3 separate regions of the Homo sapiens genome follow, and all the other regions are linked to region 2. The links are contacts of gene promoters, found by promoter capture Hi-C in blood cells and fetal thymus (Javierre and others, 2016). All regions are on one chromosome and are shown on one strand. Each heading gives the region's core, a stretch centred on a gene start or on the middle of the fragment in contact. The rest is flanking DNA. Distances are from core to core; before and after follow the strand shown. Region 1 holds the start of NPTX1 (neuronal pentraxin 1). Region 2 holds the start of CHMP6 (charged multivesicular body protein 6). Region 3 has its middle 22 kb from the start of MIR4730.

Region 1 (4,593 bases), core at 1,236-3,735, 520 kb after region 2:
CCCTTCGTTTTCCTGCTCCCTCCCTCTCAGATACTTTCAGAACACTGGGGAGGCCGAGGGAATCCTAAATACGACCCTCCGCTTGCCCAGGGTCTTGTGAAGGAGAAACGCGGCATGGTGGCCCTCGCGTGTGTGTGCAGCGCCTGCAGGTGTCCCGCCCAGCGCCTCCTGCACAACAGTTGCAGGCTGGACCCGAGGGTCTCCTCTCCTGGGGCCCCACAGTGCCCAGAGGTCCCGCTAGCCCCAGACACCGCCCCAGGCTCCCCTCCCTTTCTGACGCCGTCCACTCCCTTCCTCTGCGGAAGGGGGACACGCTCCTCTGTGCCGAGGTGCCAGGCCGCTGAGATCTGCTGCCCTGGAGGAAAAGCCAGGCAGGGTCCCTGGCCTTGGGCGGCTAGGAAGGCTCCACGGCTGCTGGGGATAGAGACGCGGGGCCAGGCTAAGGGTTCCCGCCCCGTCTAAACAGCCTGCCCTGGGCAGGGCAGGGCTCCTCTCCCGCGCCCGCGCGCTCTCGGCTGGGCACGGTCCGGCTCCAGGCCTGACGGGCGCGGCCTCCCCACTGGACGCGTGCGGGAGGGCGGCGAGGCCAAAGCGCTGGGGCCAGGAGGGCACCCGCCTAGCGGCTCCCTACGGGAGTTGGGGCAGAAGACGCCGCGACCCCGCGCGGGTAATTTCTCCCGAGGCGCGTTCCAGCCCGTGGCGCTGCCGGCGCAGACCCCGCGTGGGGACCGGCGAGGCTAACCCCTCCTGCGGCCCGGGGTCGGCAGAGCACGCAAGGGGCCGCGGGCCGCGTGGGTTTGGGCGCGCCGTGGTGGGCAAGCGGGGCCAGCGGAGCGGGAACCCGCACACCCTCCGAGCGGAGCCGAGGACAGGCCCGTGCGGGCCGCGGGGTCCCTCTGGCGCCAGGAAGCGGCGGCCGAAGGAGACAACGAGAACGCAGCCCCGGCTCAGGGAGGCTTAAAAGCTGAGATGCTGAACGCAGACGGCGGGCGCTCGGGGGCTGGGGGGCGGGTAGAGGCCGCCATTTCTCAAAAAGGTCTCCATCGAGCCGGCCTCTGCTCCCGCCCGAGGGGCGGACGCCCGATCCCGGCACCCGGGACTGCCCGTGGGTCCCTGCTGGCTGGGGACCCCCAGCCCCCGGCTGCGCGCAGGGAAAGGCTGCAGAACGCAGAGACCAGAGAAGCCGGGGGCGGCGGGGAGGGGTCGGGGGGCCACGGCTGTAGCCCGGCCCCGCAGTCTCGGAGCCTCAGTTTCCTTCTCTGTACCACGGGAGCGTGGACGGAGGGATTTCCGAGGCTTTGACCGCTCTGATAGCCCCGGGGCGGGGCGGGGCGGGGCGGCTGCGCCAGCCCTGGTCCTGAGCCCCCAGCCCGGCGCCGGAACCCGGACCGCGATCTCGGGAGCCGAGCCCCGCGGTCCAGATGAAGGCGCGAGTGCGCGGGTGCCGGGTGGGGTGTCTGAGCGAGAGCGGAGCTTCTCAGGTGGACGCCCCCAGCCACCTCCGGGACCCTTCCTGCTGGCCTTTGGGCCTGAGAAGTGGGCGCGGCTGGACAGACGGGAAACAGCCCCCCACGCACAGGTGGACACCCGGGGATACCGGGCGCGCGCGGCGCCTGGCAAGGGGAAGCTGCTGGAGACGCGGGCGGCTGCTCCCGCGGGGCCCCCTTCCGAAGCGCCGCTGCGAACGTCCAGCCCCGGCGACGCCGCCTGCCCGCGATCGGGCCGGCGCCGCGGACAGGAAAGGCTCGATCAGCTAGGTCTGCCTCCGAGAAGTCCCCAGCGCCCCGCCCGCACGGGGTGGGGACTGACAGTCCCCCGGGGACGGGGCCGGGTCCACAGAGCCCGGGAGCTGGGGGAGGGGAGGCGCCGGGGGCCCCGACCCGTGGGAAGTCCCTGTACCCAGGCTGCCCGGCGGCTTCTCAATAGCACACGGACATCTAAGAAACGCGGGGCGGCCCGGTGACCCCCGCTCTGGACTTAGTGGCGCCGCGAGGCCCCACTCCGAGCCGTTGACCACCGGGCACTCGGGTGTTGACGACCTGGGTCCTTGGGCACCCAGCCCGGCTCCAAACGACCCCGGCCCAAGGGTGTTCAGTGCAGCCAGGAGGGCCGAACCGAATTCTATCTCCCGGACGCGGTGGTTTCCCGCCCGCCTGGAGCCCCGTCGGAGGTTCGGGGACACCACGCAGGTGGTCCATCCTCGAGTCCGGGGCCGGAGCCCGACTTCCTTCCCCCTGAGCTCTCGGAGCCTTCGGGGCAGCAGCGCCGGCCCAGGCGGGGGCGGGGGAGGAGGGGGCCGCGGCAGCTCCCAGAAGGGCGGGGGGGACGCGAGCGGAGGCAGCCCCGGTGGCGCGCTCGTGAGACCCCCGCCGCGCCGCGGGCCCGGGCCGCGGACAATTAAAGCGGGATTCCTCCCCCGCTGACGTCGGCGGCTCGAGGCCCCTCCCGCGGCGGCATAAAAGGCGCGGGCTCCGCAGCGCAGGCGGCAGTGGGGGCCTGATAGCGCGGCGGTGTGGACCGCGCGGCCGAAGAGCGCGGCGCCCAGAGCGCGGGCCGCTCGCGGAGCCACAGCCCGAGCCGGGTCCCAGCCGGAGCCGAGCCCCAGCCGAGCCGAGCCGGGCCCGGAGCGCCCGGTGCCCGCAGCCATGCCGGCCGGCCGCGCCGCGCGCACCTGTGCGCTGCTCGCCCTCTGCCTCCTGGGCGCCGGGGCCCAGGATTTCGGGCCGACGCGCTTCATCTGCACCTCGGTGCCCGTGGACGCCGACATGTGCGCCGCGTCCGTGGCCGCCGGCGGCGCCGAGGAGCTCCGGAGCAGCGTGCTGCAGCTCCGCGAGACGGTGCTGCAGCAGAAGGAGACCATCCTGAGCCAGAAGGAGACCATCCGCGAGCTGACCGCCAAGCTGGGCCGCTGCGAGAGCCAGAGCACGCTGGACCCCGGAGCCGGCGAGGCCCGGGCGGGCGGCGGCCGCAAGCAGCCCGGCTCGGGCAAGAACACCATGGGCGACCTGTCCCGGACACCGGCCGCCGAGACGCTCAGCCAACTCGGGCAAACTTTGCAATCGCTCAAAACCCGCCTGGAGAACCTCGAGGTCCGCGCGCGCCCTCGGCTCCGGTTCCCCCTCCGGCTCGCTCGCCCCTCTGCCCTCCCCCACCCCGTTCCCTACCCGGCCAGGCATCCCCCGCCCTCGCCTCAGCCGCGCGGGTGCCCGGCCGGTGCCTCCCCGCGCCTGCGAGGCCCCGCGGCGGCCACTCGCCCCAGCTCCCTGCCAGGCCGCCCCCGCAGTCGCCCAGAGGGGACCGCGCCGCGGGCCTTCCAGCACGGTCCCCGCGCCTCGCCTAACGGTGTGGTTTCCCCCGCCCTTGCACCCCGCAGCAGTACAGCCGCCTCAATTCCTCCAGCCAGACCAACAGCCTCAAGGATCTGCTGCAGAGCAAGATCGATGAGCTGGAGAGGCAGGTGCTGTCCCGGGTGAACACCCTGGAGGAGGGCAAGGGGGGCCCCAGGAACGACACCGAGGAGAGGGTCAAGATCGAGACCGCCCTGACCTCCCTGCACCAGCGGATCAGCGAGCTCGAGAAAGGTACTGGGGCCAGGGGGAGCCGTGCTGCCTGCCTGCACCTGCTTGCCCGACCCTGCCTCGGTCCCGATCCCTAACAGCCCAGCTCTGCACTGTGCAAGCCTCAAGCCGCTCCGCTACCCCCAACCCCTGCACCGCTTTCTCATTCCCCGCACCCCTTCCCAGGTTCTGGGCTTCTAGTCGGTGTTTCTATCAGGGCTGGGTGCCTTGGGCTGGGGCTGTCTCTGGGAAAGGGGATTGCATAGTGCCCCCTCCCCCATCCAGACACACTCACACACTCGCTGGATTTTTCAAGTCTGATTTGTTTAATCCTCAGTAACTTTGCACAGTGGCTGTCGCTGGCTCAAACCCTCCCTGCTTAAGAAAGCCTGTCTCTCCCTGGTCCCCAGCCTCAGCGTACAGCTGGGTGCAGGCTGGGGCTGGGCGCTCTCGTTCCCCGGGCCGCTGAGGCTGTTAAGCAGGTTTCTTCCCGGCTGCCATGCCCCCGGTGTCCTCTCAGGATCTCCAGCTCCTCCCCACTTCTGTCCTGAACCCCTACCCTGAGGTTTTCTTTTCTGAGTGACCCAAGTCCTGGCATCTTTCAAATCCCTGAGGTTTCTCAGTCACCAACTCAGGCCAGCCAGTCTATCACCCAGGGCGCCTGGATGAGCGCTGGAGGCTCTGTCTTGAAGTCGCAGAAATCAAACAAGGTTGTAAAAGGGGAGGGGGGGGGGTGCCCGGTGCGGAGCAAGGCCACGTGACCCTGCTCAGACCGCAAAATGTGCCGGACAGATTTAAACAGTGCCATCTTAAGGCTTGTTATGTAACTGAAAAACAGATCAGAAGGAAGGACCTCAGGAGGGAGGGAGAGGGAAGGAGCGGAGATTGGGGAATGAAAAACACCCGGAGAAAGGCCAGGGGCTGGGCCCCTCCCTATCCCCCACTGCAGGCCTCAATGGGTTGGGGTAGCCGCTGGGGTGCTGCACTGAGGGGGCCTGCCCTGCTCTGCTCCCTGCCAGTTGGTTTAGAGGAGGGG
Region 2 (4,244 bases), core at 152-2,651:
AGGATGCTGTTCCCAAGCACCCAAAATCCCAGGGAGACCTACGGCAGCCCGCAACACGGGTCTGCACAGCCGAGAGCCCACAGTGACCCTTGGCAAGTGGAAAGCTGTGCTTGAAGAGAAACCGGAGCTGAGTCCTTAAAGAGAGGGGAGGGAGTGCCTTGGGGCTGGCAGGGTAGGTGGAAGGTGGACGATGGAGGCTGGGTCCAGCTGTCTTGCAGGCAGCTCGGGACGGTGCCCAGCGCTGTGCCCATCTTCTCTAGGGACAAATGTGCCCGTTGTTTCTTTTCACAGCTTATGGACTCAGATGCCAACGTAAGATTCCCTCTTTCATTTACATTCGCTTCTCTTTTAGTATAAAATTAACCTATTTCTGTTGCACAAAATTTAGAAAAGAAAGCATCCGAAAAAGCTAGCCCTGCTTTCATTTCGGGGTCTCTTTCGTGACACGTTTATCTCGTTACAAAAATGGACTATTCTTAACCCGCCCTGTCCCTGACATGCCAGGCGATTCCTCCTCCTACAGAAGCTAACTTTCACATGGGAAAAGGCACCACCACCGGCCCGGCTGTGCCCCGGGGGGTCAGTCTGGAGTCGCCGCAAACAAACGCGCCAAACACGGTGGTCCCGTACCCAGGCGCTGCGGAAGCCCGGCAGGACCCCGGCAGGACCCCGGCAGGCGTTCGGCGCACCTGTCGGCCGCTCCTCGGACCAGGGCAGACTTCCTTCCAGTCCTGGCCTGGATGGGGTGAGGGAGAGGGGATGCCCCGCGCTGCCTCGCGAAGCCGGCAGCACCGCCGGGGCTCCGGCCCAGGGCACCAGGAGGCAAATGAGCCGCGGGACGGGGGCGGGGGCAGCGACTCCGGGAGAGCCGGGACCTGCTCCCGCGGGCCCAGAGCCAGGGAAAGCCCAGCGCCGCGCGGACCCCACGGACGGGCCGCCAGGCTGTGGCCGAGCCCCGAACGCCGGCGTCGAATCCCGCAGTCACCAGCCGCGCCCACCCCGGCGGGGCTCGCAGAGGCGGACGCGCGGGCCCCGGGGAAGACGGCAGCCACGGCGCCGCGCAGGAGACCCCGGCCCGAGGCCCCGCGGGCGAGGAGGGACGCAGGGCGGAGAGACCGAGGGGCCCGGCTGCGCGCTGCGCCTCAGTTTCCCCATCCGAACGCGGGGGGCCGAGGGCGCGGGGCTCTTCCGGCCCCGCCGCCCGCCCCGGCCCCGTCGCCTGTCCCGGCCCCAGCCCTGACCCCGGGCCCGGGCCCTCACCAGGATGGCCTTGTCCTGCTCCGTGACGCGGCTCTGCTTCTTGCGGCCGAACAGGTTACCCATGGCGGCGCCCGCCCCTGGCCCGGGACCCACCAAGTCCAATCGCCACCGCCGCCCCGCGGCCACCGTAGCTCGGGTCCTCCCGCTACGGCGGCCGCGCCGGGCCAGGCGCCGCGGAACGCGAAGGCCGAGCGCCGCCTCCGGCCGCGCGCCGTTGCCGCGGGTTCGAAACCACAGCCCGCCGGTCTCGGCGACCGCCGCGAACACCGCGGCCTCCTTGGACCGGTACGGAGAAGTGGCACGGATACCTGGATGTTAGGGCCCGCGATGTTCGGGCCCGGGATGTTCTAAATGACGTGTTTCCGTGCACCCTTCCTGTGCAGGTGAAGGCAAAAATTTCTTATCTCCTAATTAGGTGGGATCCTTTTAGATTAACATAATTCAGTCTCCCCAGGCTTTCAGGAATCTTGTGCAGGAATCACTGTCCCACTGGCTCTGAACACAAAATGCCGCATTAATGATGTGATATCCAACGTTTTGCACTTTTTTTTTTTTTTTTTTTTTTAGATGGAGTCCTGCTCTGTCGCCCAGGGTGGAGTGCAGGGGCGCTATCTCGGCTCACTACAAACTCTGCCTCCCGGGTTCAAGTGATTTTCCTGCTTCAGCCTCCTGAGTAGCTGGGACTACAGGTGCCTGCTGCCACACCCGGCTAATGTTTGTTAGTAGAGACGGGGTTTCACCATATTGGCCAGGCTGGCCTTGAGCTCCTGACCTTCTGATCCACCCACCTCGGGCTCCCAAAGTGCTGGGATGACAGGCGTGAGCCGCCGCACCCGGCCCGCTTTGCACTTTAAAATGTTCCCTGAAATGCGACCAGCAGCGCCCTCCACCCAGCCTTTCAGCCCTGGGATCTTCCCTCTTCCACTGCGCTGCTCCCTGTCTGTAGATCAGTGCCAGGAGGAGACCAGCATGGCTGGGCTCAGCTTCTCCTTCCAAGGAATCGTGGCTGCGTCCCCCACAGAAGCATTCTTCCCTGGGGGGCTAAGAAACACATGAATGGGGATAAAGGGTAAAAGGGAGAAGCCACCCCGGTTCCCGCCTGAGTATCCTGACTGTGGTTCCTGAGCATTCACTAAGTGTCAAAGAAAAGCACTCAGCTGAGGATGGCTTGAGGCCAGGAGTTCAAGACCAGCCTGGCAACATAGCAAGACCCCCGTCTCTACAAAAAATATAACAAATAACATCAAAAGGAGAATAATTATCACCTGTTCCAAACCTCTGGACTCCAGAACCTTCACTGAGGTGAGGGGGCCCCTGAATTTTTGTGGGGTTCATCTCCCACCCTCTGATTTGTCTCACCAAGACATCTGAAGTACTTTTTTCCTTGGTGTCCATGGGGACGTTGAGGAAAAAAAAAAAAAAGACTTGCTACTCCCTGCTCCTCATGAAGGGGGAAGGAAGAGCTGGGTAGAGGAAGGCGTGATCCTTGGCTAGGGATCCCCCCACCGCCTGTGCCCACAAACCTAGGTGAGGACAGGGATTTTTGTTTTCCTGCCCAAATGTTGCATTTCCAAAGACCACCCTGGCCTGCCACGCCCCCATCCTGTCCCTATAAAATCCCCGAGACTCTAGCAGACTCCATCTGGCCAGGTGTGGTGGCTCACGCCTGTAATACCAGCACTTTGGGAGGCTGAGGTGGGTGGATCACCTGAGGTCAGGAGTTCGACATCAGCCTGGCCTCACATAGTGGACCGTGTCTCTACAAAACTACAAAAGTTAGTGGGGCATGGTGGCATGCACCTGTAATCGCAGCTACTTGGGAGGCTGAGGCAGGAGAATCGCTTGAACTTGGGAGGTGGAGGTTGCAGTGAGCTGAGATCACACCACTGTACTCCAGCCTGGGCGACAGTGTGATACTCTGTCTCCAAAAAAAGAAAAAGAAAAAGAAAAGGAATTGGAATCCATTTGATGCCAGTGTCTTGTCATTCCTGAGACGCTTGAGTATTTCCCTCCCTCTGTTACACAGTTACTTTGGTAAACAGGTACAGGTCCCTTTGGGGGACTCTTCCCGTGGCTTTGCTGCTGTATTCCTTGCAGCAATGCTTCAGGGGTCTCCCTCAAGGAACCTGGCCCCCAACTCAAGGGCTCCAGGTCTGTGAATTGGCTCAGCCTGGAAACAGGTGAGAGGCCGTGGCTGTCCACTGTGGTGACTCAAGTCAGGTTTGGCCACCAGACCCAGAGTTTTGTTTCTGTTGTGTAAGACAAACAGCACTCTGGTCTGCCAACCCTTTGTTTCACCCTGGGCACTGTGATTCGCCGGAGGACCCTGCAGGCCACGGCATCCCGAGCGCCAGTTCCTTCTGCCGCCGCTGGCACACACAGCCCGCGTGGGACTTGACGGCGGCGGTTGCCCCCTGTCCTGCTGCTGCTCTGGGATGTGTCACCCCATGGAGATCAAGGAGCGCATCTCTGCCGGGGCACCCCTCTCCCCGCGGTCACACTTGGCCTACGAAGGAGAGCAGTAGCAGGACTTTTCAGGGTGCAGGGGCTCCCCTCGCCCGGGTGTTCCTCACGTCCGGGAAGGTGGTGCTTCTGAGCCTGCAGGGCGTGGCTGGGTGTGGGCGTGCAGGTCACACTCACGGACTGCCTGTCCGTGGACCTTCGGATTCTCTCCTCCACAGCAGGCCATGGAGGGTCTGGGGTCTTGGGTTCGTGACCTGCGGGCCTCTGGGTCTGAGCTTCAGCCGTCGCGCGAGGGAGCGCTTAGCTGTGGCTGCAGCTGCAGACCCGGCAGAGCGATCAAGGCCCCCAGATCAGGGACTTCAGCCCCCTCTAGTGTTCCGATTCGGTGTTCCCGGTCCAACCCCCCCGAATCCACTCCCGCAGGTTCTCCCCAGGTTCCCCGCGATATCTATCTGAAATATCTCTGAATTCTTGTAGCATGTAAGCCAGGGTTTGCCAAACTACAGCCTGCGGGCCACATC
Region 3 (4,114 bases), core at 969-3,468, 550 kb after region 2:
CCGGCATGTGCACCCTGGGAGCCTTCACCAGTGAGGTGGGTCCAAGGCCTCTCTTGTAGGGAGGAGAAGGAGGAACCAGGTTCAGCCAGCACCAAGTGGGGGCCACAGTGTTAGTTCCCACAACACTCCCAGAACTGGGGGTTATTATCCCCATTTTATAGATAAGAAAACAGAGGCCCGGCGAGGTTTTACTAAACTGTTTCAAGGTCTCCCAGCACAGCGACGGCAGAGCCAGATTCTGCTCAGGTCCGGACAGTGCACAGTCAATGGTCCCTTGCCCAAGCCTGGAGCAGCCCCGTCCCCTGCTGTGCCTGGGCACCCTCTGCCTGGTGGCCACCCACCCTGCCCCTTGTCTCAGGGACCTGGCTTCTCCTCCTCCACCTCCCAGCTCCGTGATGCACTCTGTCCTGCCCCCACCCCCCAACCCCCACTTAGAATGAACTCTTCTCTCCTCCTCCCAGCTCTGTGATGCTGTCACAGAGTCTCTCTGTGTCTCTCTGTCCCCCGCCCCTTAGAATGAACTCTTCTCCCAGCTCTGTGATGCTCTGTCCCCCACCTTAGAATGAACTCTTCTCTCCTCCTCCTGGCTCTGAGACACTCTGTCACCCTCTCTTAAAATGAACTCTTCTCCCAGCTCTGTGATGCTGTCCCCTCCTTACCGCCTTAAAATGAATTCTTCTCTCCTCCCAGCTCTATGATGTTCTGTGCCCCCCACTTTTAGAACAAACTCTTCTCTCCTCCTCCCAGCTCTGTGATGCTTTGTCCCCCCGTTACCCCCTTAGAATGAACTCTTCTCCCAGCTCTGTGATGCTGTCCCCCGCCCACCCCCTTAAAATGAACTCTTCTCTCCTCCCAGCTATGATGCTCTCTCTGTCCCCCCACCACCTTTAGAATGAACTCTTCTTTCCTCCCTGTCCTGAGGATGCTGTTACCCATCTTGCTGACTGCAGAGACCACACAAGACAGGGACACCTGTCTGCAGTCTGCACGTGTGTCCCTCCCTAACCTCAGCCCTCAGTCACCTCTCCCATCCGTGCCTGGTCCAGGTCTGACATGCAGGTGACTGTGGAATGAATGAATGAATGGACAGAGACAGGTACAGGCAAGAGTGGTGCGCCGAGCACGCGAGGCATGACTGCAGAAGCTGCCACCAGTGTAGCCGCAGCCGGTGTCACACCGTCCCTGGGGGGGTGGAGGAACTGCCCTGCTCTGGGCTCCACAGGCCCTTTCTCTCATTCCTGGCCCTGCTGGACGCAGCGACGGTGGGTTGGATGAACTGCCCTGGGTTAATTGGCTCTCTCTTCCTGCCAGCATGATGGATCCTGCTTGACATTTCCCCAGATAGTTAATTGATAACCAAGTAATTTGTCATGGAGACCTCATTATATGCCAACTGGGTCCCCTAAGCCGTTAGCGTCTGTGCCCCAGAAACAAGATTGGCAAGTTAATAATGGAGGCTTAATCACGCTGTTCTCTGCTGGCACCGGAATAGAATTACCTGGAGACAAGATGGGACACTGTTGCTCTCCTTGGGCCTTGGAGATGAAGCTTTATGAGAGATCCTGAAGCCACTGACCCTTCTTGAGAAGGTCACCTGACCTCGGTTTTCTCAACCAGGTGTTCCTTCTCCTGGCAAGAGTGCTGTTCTACTGAGAAGTCCCCCTCTCCACAAGGTGCACTGAGGCTGCTCCAGGCCCTAGCTCTGCACTGGGCACTTGGCCCCCCGACCCCAGGCCACAGTGAGGGGTTCAGGGGAAGGCATGTGACTCAAGCCTGGCCAGCCAACAAGTGTCGGCGTGGGGCCTTCGCTGGGGCCACTGGGGCCGCTGGAACAGCAGGGCTCACTCTGCCAAGGATTGTTATGTGGGTGAGGAAGTGAGGCTGGGCTGATGAGGGAGCAGCCTCCCGGAGAGGGAGGGAGCCAAGGCCAGGCCATGCAGGGCGGCGCTGCCTCCTGGAGTGAACTAACGAGGTCCCAGCTTTGCTTAAGTTGGTTTTTGTCACATGTAACCTGGAGAGTTCTGATTATACACAAGGGAGCTCCACTCAGACACCCACCTGCTGCAACTCCAGGATTCAAGCTGTCTGCCAGGGCTGCGGGGAGGAGCCCCCTGGGGAGGAAGACCACCTGGTACAGAAAGGCAAGGCCTGGGAGAGATGGCCTGGGCTGGGACGAGGGCTGGGGTCGGCAGTCTTGAGGAGGGCCTGGGGTCTGCTCCCCAGGGGGTCTTGGGCAGGAATGGAGGCGAAGCAGGGCGGAAGCTGAAGAGGAGTGAGGCTGGAGGAGAGGCTCCGGCCCCAGCCTTGACTTCAGCACCAAGGACAGCGGCAGCACACTTCCCGTGCAGTGAGGCAGGCCCAGCGCAGCCCCCGACAGTGAGGCGGGCCCAGCGCAGCCCCCTACAGTGAGGCGGGCCCAGCGCAGCCTGGCCTGGATGTTTTTAATTTTAAAAATATCTTTTATTTAAAACTAAATAGTGATGGAGATGGGGTTTCGCTATGTTGTCAAGTTGGTCTCGAACTACTGGGCTCAAGCAATTCTCCCGCCTCGGCCTCCCAAACTGTTGGGATTACAGGCGTGAGCCACTGTGCCCAGATGGGCCGGATGTTTTTAATGAACCAAAAGGAGATTTATACTTCCATGGCAGGGTTTGGGGATAAATAAGTAATGGGTACACAGAATATCAACCCAATCCCCTAAATGAGGCAATTATTAAGTCCAGGAAAAATAAGTGGTTGTACAAGAAAGGAAATGTAATTACAATACATTACTCAGCTGGGAAGAGTGTGTGCTGAGAAATAATAGTGCATACATTGAATTCTGATTCAATCAAAAGGAGAAGCTGGTGGGAGAGTGTGGGGGGGCACGTGTGAGAGAACAAGCTTTCAGCCGCCATCGTGGGAAGGACATGGGTAAATTTCTCAATCTGAAAAGGAGAAAAAAAAAAGCAGCACCAGCAGCAACATGAGCATGGCTATTCGGAAGTAAATACCAAAGAGAATCAGCTACAATCACAGAAAAGGTTGCCTCTGAGAAGGGGGAATCAGGAAAGAGGTGTGGTTTTTCGTCAGAAGCCTTGTAGTACTATTCGATTATTAAAACTGTCAATTTATGATGTTGATTAAAAGCATACATGAAATGTAGGCAGGGAGCGGTGGCTTATGTCTGTAATCCCAGCACTTTGGGAGGCTGAGGCGGGTGGATCATTGAGGTCAGGAGTTCGAGACCAGCCTGGCCAACATGGTGAAACCCCGTCTCTACTAAAAATACAAAAATTGGCTGGGTGTGGTGGCGGGCGCCTGTAATCCCAGCTACTCAGGAGGCTGAGGCAGGAGAATTGCTCGAACCCGGGAGACAGACGTTGCAGTGAGCCAAGATTGCTCCATTGCACTCCAACCTCAGCGATAGAGCGAGACTCCGTCTCAAACAACCAAAAATACATGAATGTAAGTAACTAAAAAACAAAACCAAAAATTCTCAAGCTGCTCCCCGCTCCCAGCTCTCTGTCAGGCCCAGGCAACCCCAGGGTAGGGCCCCGAGGCCTGTCCTGTCTTCCTGGATTCTGCACCTCCTCCCCGGCCCCTCTCGGCCCTCCTGTGCTCCCTCCATGCCCCTCTCTGGGCTGCTCCGGGTCTATCTGTGGATTTGTCCTGGTCCTCATCCCTCCTGCCTTAGCCTGCCTCCCACCTTGCCTGCCCCTTTCTGCACTTTACTCCCTTTTGGGTTCTGCCCATGGCAATCAGAGGGGAAGGGGTGCCTGTCCCTGGGGGAGGAGCCCAGCCCTGTCCACAGGGCCCGTGGCACCCGCAATAGCTGTCAGCTGGCCCCTTTAGCCACACCCCTACTGGCCCCACACCAGCCGCCCATGGTGGTAGGACACAGAGAAGTTGCTCCTGCTTGCCGGGGAGGTGAATTGGGGCTAGCAGGCTGTACTCCATCATCTCCATGACACCTCGCCTAATTACACTGCGTGCTATTCATCTGGATGTCAGCGCTGCAGCATGGCTTTGCCCTTAATTAATAATTTGGTAAAACTCCACTCGGGGCCTGGCCAGGGAAGTTCAGCAGGGACTGCTAAGGCTGGGCTGCTGCCGGGGTTGGGGGGCCAGGCTG

The links. The method cuts DNA at HindIII sites, captures the fragments that hold promoters and counts their contacts. A CHiCAGO score of 5 or more calls a contact.
Region 1: the fragment with the promoter of NPTX1 here is called in contact with the fragment with the promoter of CHMP6 in region 2 in 3 of 17 cell types (endothelial precursors, activated CD4 T cells and total CD4 T cells); the score reaches 6.9 in endothelial precursors.
Region 3: a fragment that was not itself captured here is called in contact with the fragment with the promoter of CHMP6 in region 2 in 2 of 17 cell types (naive CD8 T cells and naive B cells); the score reaches 7.1 in naive CD8 T cells.

Annotation. Positions count from the first base shown.
Region 1 is chr17:80,474,499-80,479,091 of GRCh38, reverse strand. It overlaps NPTX1 (neuronal pentraxin 1), which reads left to right and starts at 2,485. Exons shown (of 5, transcript NM_002522.4): 1 at 2,485-3,089; 2 at 3,374-3,581. The coding sequence starts at 2,646. RefSeq lists an enhancer at 3,498-4,031. The HindIII fragment of the contact is 19,396 bases long and covers 1-4,593 here.
Region 2 is chr17:80,988,998-80,993,241 of GRCh38, reverse strand. It overlaps CHMP6 (charged multivesicular body protein 6), which reads right to left and starts at 1,401. Exons shown (of 8, transcript NM_024591.5): 1 at 1,261-1,401. The coding sequence starts at 1,323. RefSeq lists silencers at 699-888, 899-1,048, 1,179-1,508 and an enhancer at 3,856-4,045. The HindIII fragment of the contact is 12,121 bases long and covers 1-4,244 here.
Region 3 is chr17:80,439,484-80,443,597 of GRCh38, reverse strand. No RefSeq gene overlaps it. Among named protein-coding and RNA genes, the nearest start is that of MIR4730, 22 kb to the right of the region's middle. RefSeq lists an enhancer at 1,460-2,126. The HindIII fragment of the contact is 1,335 bases long and covers 1,551-2,885 here.